Regions from separate parts of the Homo sapiens genome. Here region 2 is linked to region 1. Evidence: promoter capture Hi-C in 16 types of primary human blood cells and fetal thymus (Javierre and others, 2016). All regions are on one chromosome and are shown on one strand. Each heading gives the region's core, a stretch centred on a gene start or on the middle of the fragment in contact. The rest is flanking DNA. Distances are from core to core; before and after follow the strand shown. Region 1 holds the start of EFCAB8 (EF-hand calcium binding domain 8). Region 2 overlaps BPIFB4 (BPI fold containing family B member 4).

Region 1 (5,554 bases), core at 1,257-3,756:
CAGTGGCATGGTCACGGCTCACTGCAGCCTTGACTTCCCGGGCTCAAGTGATTCTCCCACCTCAGCCTCCCAAGGAGCTGGAACTGCTCAGCTAATTTTATTTTTGTAGAGACAGGGTCTGGCTATGTTCCCCAGGCTGGTCTCAAACTCCTGGGCTCAAGCAGTCCTCCACCACTCCTGGCCAAGAAGTGCCTTTTTTTTTTTTTTTTTTTTTAAAGTAGCTGCTGAACACAGGAGAATCTGCCTTTTTCTTGAATCGTGGTTTTTTTGTTTTTTTTTTTTTCAAGACGGAGTGTTGCTGTTGTCGCCCGGGCTGGAGTGCTGTGGTGCGATCTTGGCTAATTGCAACCTCCGCCTCCCAGATTCAAGCGATTGTCCTGCCTCAGCCTCCCGAGTAGCTGAGATTACAGGCACGCACCACCGTGCCTGGCTAATTTTTGTGTTTTTAGTAGAAACAGGATTTCACCATGTTGGCCAGGCTGGTCTCAAACTCCTGACCTTGTGATCCACCTGCCTCGGCCTCCCAAAGTGCTGGGTTTACAGGCGTGAACCACTGCACCCGGCCTGAATCATGGTTTTTTGAAACCATTGGCATCTGAACCTGTAGCTCTCTCTGGTAGTGTTGTGTGGTTTTAAATGTCATGTGAGCTGAGTTACTGACCTCAACCTACTGCCAGATGAAGGTGTGATCCTGTGATACCAATCTTGAGGGTCCCTTCTAGTTTTAGCAGTCAGTGACTTCTCTTGTTTATTTTTGTTTGAAAAAGTAAAAGGCTCTCTTTTTGGCTATAGAGTTGCATCTTGAAATTTTTGACAAATTACATAGAGCTGAAGAAGGATACAAGTTTTGATATCTTAAAATCACAGGGTTGAAGCTTGAAAGGACAGTATTGGCATTGCAGCTAAGTGGGAGTGTGAGGAAGCGCCTTCTCTAGGGCAGGTAATTGCATCTGTTAATGTGGTCCTTGGGCCCCTGAGTTGCTGCCTTCCAATCAGAATTCCCTTAGCATTAGCCAGTGACGCCTGAATTAATCTCAGGTAGGACTTCTAACTTTTTTCCAAAATTATTTTTGTGCAGAGGTTTATCTAGATTTTTCTTCTAAATGTCCTCCTCCCCACTTGTTTTATTATTACTGTTTTTTTCTCTCTTTAATTTTTTTTTTTTTTTAATAGAGACATGGTCTCACTATGTTGCCTGGGCTGATCTCAGACTCCTGGGCTCAAGTGATCCTCCTGCCTCAGCTTCCCAAAGTGCTGGGATTATAGGCGTGAGCCATTGCGCCTGGCTCTGTTACTGTTTTTCTAACCTGAGTTACTTAGGATCATATTTTCATTCTTTTTTAAAAAGATGGGAGTTTTCTGAACTTTTCCTTAACTAAAAAGTGGAATGCATCTTAATATTTTCCTTTTTTTACTTGTGTTTCTCCCCAGGGAGGGAAAAACATATTTATTGTGACAGAATTTAGCATATTTTAGGCCACATTAAAATACTGATAAATGTATTAATCAGTGAAAATAGGTTATAGTGAAAAATATATACCATTTGATTAATAAAAATGTTATTGGAAAAATGCAAGAACTGCTGTAAGAATTGCTAACATTGTGTTGGAAAATAAATATACTAAGCTAAGAAACAATGGGAAACTGTCATATGTAGGGCCAACAGCCTTTTTTTTTTTAAACCCTTCCAATTTATTAATATCTAGTCTAATAAACCCTGATTTATAGGACCTCTGCACCTTTTTTGACTTTTTATTCATCCATTCTTAATATTCTACACTATGACAAAATCCTTAAAACTCCATTATTGATGAAATGGGAACAGACTTTTGTTTTTGTATGTTGGTGTTCTCTGAGTGGTGAAGGCCCAGGGAGAATGTTTTGTTTGGTGGTCACTTAGCATTTGAAAACATCCACTTCCTTGTGACTTAGCTGGGTATCTTTTAACATCTGGAAGCCACGTCCCTGATTGAAATCTCTGGAGACAACTTACCTTTCACCAACTTGTCTGCCAAATTGCACCATGGACCAAGATTGCAGTGGCTGCATCAAGTCTAGGCCTGCCCTGAAGTCTGGATTTGTAAGTCCCCCATTTCAAATGGGGCAGAAGGCAGAGGAGCAGAGGAGCCACTGTGCCTTTCGCTGTCCTGGAGCCAGTTGGCCTTCTGGTTTTGGTGAACCCTGCTTTTATAAGAGGACTCCCTGGCATCTTCCAGTTTCCCGCTACTTGTTTTATGTATTATTTTATGTCTGTGTTTGTCCTGGAGTGCTGTAACTCCTTTCACTGTCTGCTGTAAGTTCAACTTCTTCAATAAAAGAAATGTTTCAAATTGGATGAAAAATGGTTCTGTGATTATGGTTTGTGGGACGGGTTCTGATGCTTCATTTATGTTCTTCATACGGAATTCTGTCTCATTTCCCTAGTTCTAAATATGACCAGCAGACCCAGAGTTCCATCTCGACTTCATAAAGGAGCTGTCTTGGACTGGGAACAGCTGCCAATGTCTTTGTTGAGATGGGAGTTGGAAAGTGTTAGCACTTTGCCAGACTTTGCCAGCAAGATTAACTGAGGAGATCAAATTGAGTCAGGGTGAGTGAGGGTTTTAGGTGAAAGTTGCTCTCCAAAAGATTGGATACCTCTGCTGAAGACCTCTGCCTGACCTCCAAGGCTGGAGAGCAGCTCTTATCTGTGTCCTGGCTGGCTTTCAATGCATGTATCCTTAAGTCATCTGCCTCTACAAATTCGTACAAACCACTCGTTCCCCTCTCATCCCTAGCATGTTCCCCTAGTGGCTGCTCTGAATTCTCACCCCTGTTCTGGATGGTACTCTCCCACCTGCCTTGCCCTGCCCCTCTTCCGTCAGCTCCGGACAGGTCAACTTTAGGGAATAGATTGAGGCAGATGGATGTGACTTCTGATCTGACCTGTTCTCCAATTCTAAATATCAACCGAGTTTTACATCTCAGCCTTCCCTTCCTTCCCTTCAGAGTTGGAGGAATGGTACTTGTCTTGGCCTCTCCCCTCTTGCTTTTGCCCTTTTCTTTTGGGTGGTCTCTGTTGGCAGCAACCAGCACTTTTTTTCCCATTTGGCGTTTTACCTCTGTTCATGAACATACATAGAACCACTTTCTCCTGGTGAAAGACATTTATCTTACAAAATATTTAGTTTTGAAATAATTAAAAATATATAAATAGTTGTAAGACTACTACAAAGAACTTCCCTTTGTCCAGATAGACTAATTGTGAACATTTTGCCACATTTGTGTTATTATACATGTTACTTGTTAAACCATTTGAGAATTACAGACATCATGCCCTTTTACCCCTAAATACTTTTCAGTGTACATTTCCTGAAACAAGGACATTCTCATAACCACAATACAGTTATCAAAAGCAGAAAACATTAATATGCTATCTAATAATATAGAGTCCATGTTCAAATTTTACATAATTTCACCAAATAACAGCCCTTGCAGCATTTTTGTTTTTTCCCAATCGGATTCAATTCAGAATCGTGCATTGCCTTTAGTTGTTGGGTCTCTTGAGTCACCTTTCATCTCTAACAGTTCCTTAGCCTTTCTTTGGTTTACATGGCATTTTATTTTGGCCAGGCGCGGTGACTCACGCCTGTAATCCCAGCACTTTGGGAAGCCAAGGCGGGCGGAAAGCACTTGAGGCCAAGGAGTTTGAGACCAGCCTGGCCAACATGGAGAAATCCTGTTTCTACTAAAAATACGAAAGTTAGCTGGGCATGGTGGCGTGCACCTATAATCCCAGCTACTGAGGAGGCTGAGGCATGAGAATCATCAGAATCTGGGAGGTGGAGGTTGCGGTGAGCTGAGATTGAGCCACTGCATTCCAGCCTGTGACAGAGTGAGACTCTCAAAAATAAAAGCAAAAAAAAACCCAGTTATTTTGTAGAATATCCTGTAATGTGGGTTTGTCTGTTTCCTTATGATTAGATTCAGATCATGTATTTTTTTGGCAATAATACTACTGAAGCATTGTGCCCTGCATGTATCGGATCAGGAGGTGTGTGATGGATGTCATTTTGTTCCATCGCTGATGGTGGTAACTTTTTTTTTTTTTTTTTTTTTTTTTTTTTTTGAGATGGAGTCTTACTCTTTTGCCTAGGCTGGAGTGCAATGGCACAGTCTTAGTTCACTGCAACCTCCACCTCCTGGGTTCAAGCGATTCTCGTGCCTCAGTCTCCCGAGTAGCTGGGATTACAGACGTCAGCCATTGTGCCCAGGCTATTTTTTCATTCTTTTATAAAAATTGGCATCATAGTGTGCACCCTTTTCTGCATCTTGGTTTTTTTATTTATTTATTTTTTTGAGACAAGGTCTCATTCTCTCACCCAGGCCCTGGAGTGCAGTGTTGTGATTACAGTTCACTACGGCCTCAAACTTCTGGATGCAGGTAATCCTCCCATCTCACCCTCTTGAGTAGCTGGGACTACAGGGGAGTGTCACCATACCCAGATAATTTTTTGTATGTTTTGTACAGATGGGGTTTCACCATGTTGCCCAGGCTGGTCTCAAATTCCTGGGCTCAAGCGATCTTCCCACCTTGGCCTCAAGTGTTGGCATTACAGGTATGAGCCACTGTGCCTGGCCTGCATCGTGCTTTTCTTATTAGTACTTCATGGAAATCTCTCTTAGCTGCTGGAAGTCAGATTCATCCTTCTGATGTTTGGGTGACGTCCTAGGTGCAGATGCACTGATTTGTTCATTTCTGTGTCTATAATGGTTCACTTTTGGTTTTTGCTCCTATGAATGATGCTGCAGCAATCACTCTTCAACAGTGGCCTTTCACAAAGGAGTCATTTAAATTACTACCCACCATCCTACCCACTCCACTGAAACACATTTTATTTTATTTTTTTGAGACGGAGTTGCGTTCTTGTTGCCCAGGCTGGAGTGCAATGGCACAATCTCGGCTCACCGCAACCTCCGCCTCCTGGATTCAAGCAGTTCTCCTGCCTCAGCCTCCTGAGTAGCTGGGATTACAGGCATCCACCACCACACCCAGCTAACGTTTGTATTTTTAGTGGAGATGGGATTTCTCCATGCTGGCCAGGCTGGTCTTGAACTCCTGACATCAGGTGATCCGTCTGCCTCGGCCTCCCAAAGTGCTAGAAGTACAGATGTGAGCCACCGCGCCTAGCCGTTGAAACACATGTTAAAGATTGCCATGAGCCTGGTGTGGTGGCATGTGCCTGTTGTCCCAGCTACTTGGGAGGCTGAGATGGGAGGATCACCTGAGCCCAGGAGTGCAAAACCAGCCTGGGCAACATTGCAAGACCCCATCTCAAAAGATCGCCATGAACCCTTTTTTAATTAAAATAAAAATCAGAGAATTGCATGATTTAGGCTATAAACATCTTCCATAATCTCACCTACCAGAGATGACTGCTATTAATTTTGGAGTATATGTTTCCAGGCTCTTTTTTATGCATGTGCCAATATGCACATGCATATATTCTTAACAGAAATGAACTTAACATTTTACATACACTTTAGTTTTTTCACTGGTAACCTCTTAATTGCC
Region 2 (5,554 bases), core at 1,008-3,507, 240 kb after region 1:
ATTGTTATCTACTAACATCACCTGAATTTCTCAGGAGCTTACTGTTTTTTCATAAAGCCAACTTTTAAATTCAATTTATTTTGGGTGGGAGGCAGGGAAGGAAAAAGGGATTTTCCTACAAAAAGGCCTCTACTTGGAGAGAGAGAGAGAGATGAGCCTGGGCCTTTTATATCCTCTCCTGGGGATGGGACAGTTATGATTGGCAGCGGTGATGCCCAATCTCGTCATCTAAAGTGAGTTTCATAGGCTACGAGCCACTCCCCACCCACTCCGAGGCATTGCAGAGACACCTGGTAAACACCCTCTATAAATCATGGGGATCCTGTGACTGTTGCCTTACTGAGAAGTGTTCACTCAGCCCTTACTGTGACTCACTTGCAAACGATAGTTAATGTTGGCAACTTATTATTCCGAACTCCTTCCCTCCAGAGGTGGTGCAAATCCAGTACATGGTGAGTGTTAACCAGGAGTCTCATGCTTATAAAAGGAGGTCTGACCCAGGCCTCGGGGAACAACCTGCCATCATGCTCAGGGTTAACGAAGCCCTAGCTAGCACTGGGCACACAATGAGCCTTTGGCAAGCACTGGCCAAGACATGAAGGCAGTGACGTCTTTCTCCTTTCCTTTCCCTCCAGGACACAGAATTCTTGGCCTCATTTTCCACAGAAGGAGATAAGCTCATGATTGATGCCAAGCTGGAGAAGTAAGGGGCTATGCTGCCTTGGGGTCCTGACGGTGCTGGTGCTGCTCATGGAGGAGCCACCAGGGAGCGGGTAGAGGTCTCCTGTGTGGCCATCAGGGCTGGGTAAACCCAAGGGGCTGCAAAGGTGACGATGGCTCATGCCTACCATTACCACTGTCACAAGCCAGGCAAGGTGGGTGAAGCCGTGAACTTAGAAAGAAACTACTGCCAAAATCAACAGTCAGTAATAATGATGCTGGGGTGTGGGCACAGTAGCCCATGCCTGTAGTCTCAGTGCTTTGGGAGGCCGAGGCTGGAGGACTGATTGAGGCCAGGAGTTTGAGACCAGACTGAGAAACATAGCAAGACACCATCTCTACAAAAATAGAAAAATTAGCTGGGCATAGGTACACACGTGTAGTCCTAGAAAAAATTAGCCGGGCTTGGTATCCATGTGCCTGTAATCCCAGCTACTCAGGAGGCTGAGGCAGGAGCCCAGGAGCTTGAGGTTGTGGTGAGCTATGATTGTGCCACTGCACTCCAGCCTGGGCAACAGAGCAAGACCCTGTCTCTAAGTAACAGTGATGATGATGAGGAGGAGGACGAGGAGGAGGAGGAGGATGCTGGTGATGATGACATACCAGGCTCTGCTCTATGTACTTGAAGTGTACGTATTATCTTGTTTCTCCCCTCTGATGGTCCCAGTGGAAGTCAGGGCTATTATTCTCCCTTTGTAGGGAGAAAACTAGGGCTGGAAACAGTGGATTTACTTACCCAGGGCCACCCAGCAAGTACATAGAGGGGCTGTGAGCCAACCCAGGTTCATGTGACCTGCTGCATTGGATGGGTACAATCATGCGCTTTGGAGCCAAGCAATATGGGTTCAAATCCTGATGTGACCACTGACTGACTGTGTGATATTGGCCAACCAACTTCACTCTGAGCCTCAGTTTTCTCATCTGAAAATGGGGATAATAGTCACTACCTCGTAAGATTCATAAAAAGAATAATTATTATTCATTGGATGCTTTCCGTGTGCCAGGTATTTGGCTAAGTCCTAGGTGTGTCTTCATTTAATTCTTTCTTTTTCTTTTCTTTTGAGCCAGGAGCTCGCTCTGTTGCCCAGGCTAGAGTACAGTCACGGCTCACTGCAGCCTTGACCTCCCCAGCTCAAGCGATCCTCCTACCTCAGCCTCCCAAGTAGCTGAGATTACAGGCATGCACCACCACGCCAGACTAATTTTTATATTTCTAGTAGAGACGGGGTTTCGCCATGTTGGCCAGCCTGGTCTTGAACTCCTGGGCTCAAGTGATCTGCCTGCCTCGGCCTCCCAAAGTTCTGGGATTATGGGCATGAGCCACTGCACCCGGCCTTCCTTTAATTCTTGATATAAGCCTATGGAAATAAGTACTATCATTATTTCCATTTCAAGATTAAATGAGGTCATATGTAAAATTTTTAGCATGTGACTAGATCATTGTAAGCTTTTCTTTTACAACCAATATTTCTTAAGCCCACCAATGGCAGTTACTCGTGATTAATATAGTGCACATCAGAGACATCCAGGAGTTCCCAAGGAGGCAAGATTCAGCCTGCAGCCTGGATAAGGAGTAGGGGCCAGCTGGGCAAGAGCTGGGTATTTCCTGCAGGGAGAGCAGCATGGGCAAGCTTCGCAGAGAGGAAAAGGGCACGGATACTGTGGGGTGCGGTGCCTGAGAGGGAGAGAGGCTGGGTAAGGAAGTCAGGAAGGAAGAAAACATGTCCCAAGCGGAGAGTCTTGTTTCCTTAGAAGGTACCTTTATTTCCCTCCTGCTGGACACCGAGCTGATGCTTCTGAACAGCCCCGAACGATTTCCGCCCCACGGGCAAGCCCGGTCTGGCCTCTCTCGGGTAGGACTGTCAGCTGTATTGAGATTCAGGTGCAGCAAGACGGAGGCCCTTATAGAGCAGAGCGAGACCTCAAACCCCGGCCTCAGCCTCCCATCTCAGAACAGCACAACAGTGAGAGTGCAGGTTCAGGGTGCGAGGCCTAGGCTATCCCTCCCTGGCTCTGTGGCTGCAGTAAATTACCCTGGAGCCTGCTCCACTGGAGGGCTGGAAGGATTACACGAGGTGATGGTGATCACTCATGCACCTATGGCAGGGCTCTGGAGCAGCGCTTTATGGGAATATCCCCTTTAGTCCTAGCAGCCACCCACTTTGCAGATGAAGAAACTGAGGCATAGAAAGGTAAAGTACCTTGACTAAGGTCACAAAGCTAGTAGGTGGCAAAGCTATGATTTGAGCCTTCTCCGTGTGGTGCATGAAGCCCTTAGCATGGTGTCCGACGTGTAGTTAGCGCTCAGCATGTGAGAGCCAGCATTGTTCTTATTAAATCCCTGCAGGTGGAGAGTGATCGTGAGGATAGTGGAGGGGCTTCTCACAATTTGTTGCAATGCAAGAGCCTTATGATTTTCAGGCAATCCCTGCTTCTCACAGGCTGTTTTCTTCGTCTACAGGACCAGCCTCAACCTCAGAACCTCAAACGTGGGCAACTTTGATGTAAGTACCATGTTTAGTTCCCAGGGCAAGATCTTCTGGGAAGGAGCCCAGGACGTGTCTTCCGGGAATGGTGTTCCTGTGAGGCTGGCTGGGCATGGGGAGTTTGTGAATTCCAAAGTGCTCCCGTCAACACTATCAGCCCTCATTTTGCAGATGGACAGATGTAGAAACTGAGGCCCACAAGGCAAGTGAGGGGCAGAGGACAGACTCACAGCTCCTTCTACTCTGCCTCGGGTGCTGTCCCATGTTAACTGGCTGCCCCATGGGGGGCCACTTGGCCCAAATCGCTCCATTTCAGGGTGGGGAGGCACAGTGGGCAGCCTTGTCCTACAGGACCACTTTCCTTCTGGAGTTAGGAGCCCACTGACTCCTGTGTGACCTTGAGCGATATCAACCCACTCTGAGCCTCAGTTTCCCCATCTGTAAAATGAATACAATTTGAGTTCATTTCTAACCTCCCTTCTTGCCCCTGGGTTGTGGAATTCTGCTTTTCCAAGGGTCCAGAAATCTGAGATGCTCACATTCTAGCGTTGGGTCCTGTTTTATCTCTTTGTTCACTCTTGGGTGCCCCACCCCCACCTAAGGCTTCAGAAACACTCCTTCCTCCCCACCCCCCCACCTCCGCTTTTTATAAATTGACAACTAAGCATCTGCTAGCTTTCTGGGACAAGCTTGGATGAGATCTCCACATGTGCAGAAAAAGTCAAACCCATTCATTGTGTTGCTAATTTTATAGCTTTTCTAACCCAAAAAGCTACAGCCTGTGAAGCCGATCTTGCCAGCTTCATTTTATAAGGATAAACTGCCCAAGGCTTCCCAGCTGGTTGGGGCAGAGTTGGGATTAGAACTGAAATCTCTGGACTCCAAGTGAAGAAAGGGGCTGACAGTGTAAAATTAATGAATTAATGAAGCTATCGAGATGGGCCCTAGGCACTGAATTATGCTTTTTTTTCTCTTTTAATGAGGTTTTCTCATTTAATCCTTACCACCGTGTTATGATTTGGGTATTATTATTACACCCATTCTTCCAAATAAGGAAGGTAAGCTCAAGTGACTTGCCCAAGGCAACAGAGCTAGGAAGAGGCACTGCCGGAAAGTGAGTCCATGCCCTCACCCTCTGCAGACTGGAACATCAGGCATGTTACATATAGGGGCTTATGTCTGATTTTTATAACCACCCTATGAGGCAAGGGTTACTCACTCCTGTTTTCAGATGTGGAAACCAAGGCTTAGAGAAGTTAAGGGAGGTAACATATGAAAAGGCTCAAGGCCAGGAGTTTTACGTGATCTACCCACCATCCTCACCGCATCCTTGCAAACTCAGCTCACTGACCCATTTTACAGCTGAGGAAGCTGAGGGTTAGAGAGGTGAAGGAGCCTGCCCAGAGGCCCACGGAGACTGAGCTGGGATGGGAACCTGGGGTGTTGGCTCCAGGGCCATTGGGACTTCTGTGATGCCATGACAGTGCCATCGGGGCCAGGCCACCCTGAAACCTGTGCTCTGTGCCTCCCAGGGGAGGAACTAGGCCTCCCTCAATCCCTGCTTCATAGGGGCCTTGGGCCACCACCCATGCTGGGCCTCAGTCTGCCCATCTGCACAATGTGCAAGTTGATGGGGGGCACCTTAAGGCTGCCGGTGAGAAATTCTGGGGTCTCAGGGGTTCTGACTGCCAGAACCTAGACTCTCCCAGAGCAGGTCTGTGTCTCCACCTTGAGCCAGGGGAGCAGACCCAAGGGGCCCTCTGGAGCTGAGCAAACCCCCTGCCCAGGCTCTGTCCTCCTTCTTCCTCTGCAGATTGGCCTCATGGAGGTGCTGGTGGAGAAGATTTTTGACCTGGCATTCATGCCCGCAATGAACGGTGAGAGCGGGTGCCTGTGCCTCTCTGGGAGCTTGTGGCTTGGGTACTGGGGGATACTGGCTTGTTGGGCATGCTGGATGTGCATCTATCCTACCTCAATAGTATTTCTGAGCACTTCCTTTGAAGCGTGTCGATGAAAGCCTCCAAATCCAAACGTGGCCCCCAAAGTTCCAGCACCTTCCTTATTTGCTTCTTTCTTGTTTGGCTGATTGTTTTATTTTTCTGATTATCTATGAAAATTCCGATTATGTATTAACATTGTGTGTGTGCAAGTTTTAGAAAATATAAAACAATTTAAAAAAAACTCACCTCGCAGAGGCAATGAATCTCAACATCTGAGCATATTTCCTTCTAAACTCTTTTTCTCCATTGTTTTCCCATATGATTGAGATCTTTCCTGACTCATATTTAAACATGTATTTATTTTTAATGATACAGGAACTACAGGAATACATTCTTATTGTGAAAAGT

What was found. Contacts are between HindIII fragments. The CHiCAGO score rates a contact against its expected background, and 5 or more counts as called.
Region 2: a fragment that was not itself captured here is called in contact with the fragment with the promoter of EFCAB8 in region 1 in 1 of 17 cell types (megakaryocytes); the score reaches 5.2 in megakaryocytes.

Annotation. Positions count from the first base shown.
Region 1 is chr20:32,856,417-32,861,970 of GRCh38, forward strand. EFCAB8 (EF-hand calcium binding domain 8) reads left to right here and starts at 2,507. Exons shown (of 27, transcript NM_001143967.2): 1 at 2,507-2,590. It overlaps LOC119746555 (a long non-coding RNA gene), which reads left to right and starts at 216. Exons shown (of 1, transcript NR_171378.1): 1 at 216-2,335. RefSeq lists an enhancer at 2,374-3,186. The HindIII fragment of the contact is 6,288 bases long and covers 874-5,554 here.
Region 2 is chr20:33,099,791-33,105,344 of GRCh38, forward strand. BPIFB4 (BPI fold containing family B member 4) reads left to right here. Exons shown (of 18, transcript NM_182519.3): 14 at 636-703; 15 at 3,182-3,224; 16 at 5,020-5,083. Among named protein-coding and RNA genes, the nearest start is that of BPIFB4, 23 kb to the left of the region's middle. The HindIII fragment of the contact is 184 bases long and covers 2,166-2,349 here.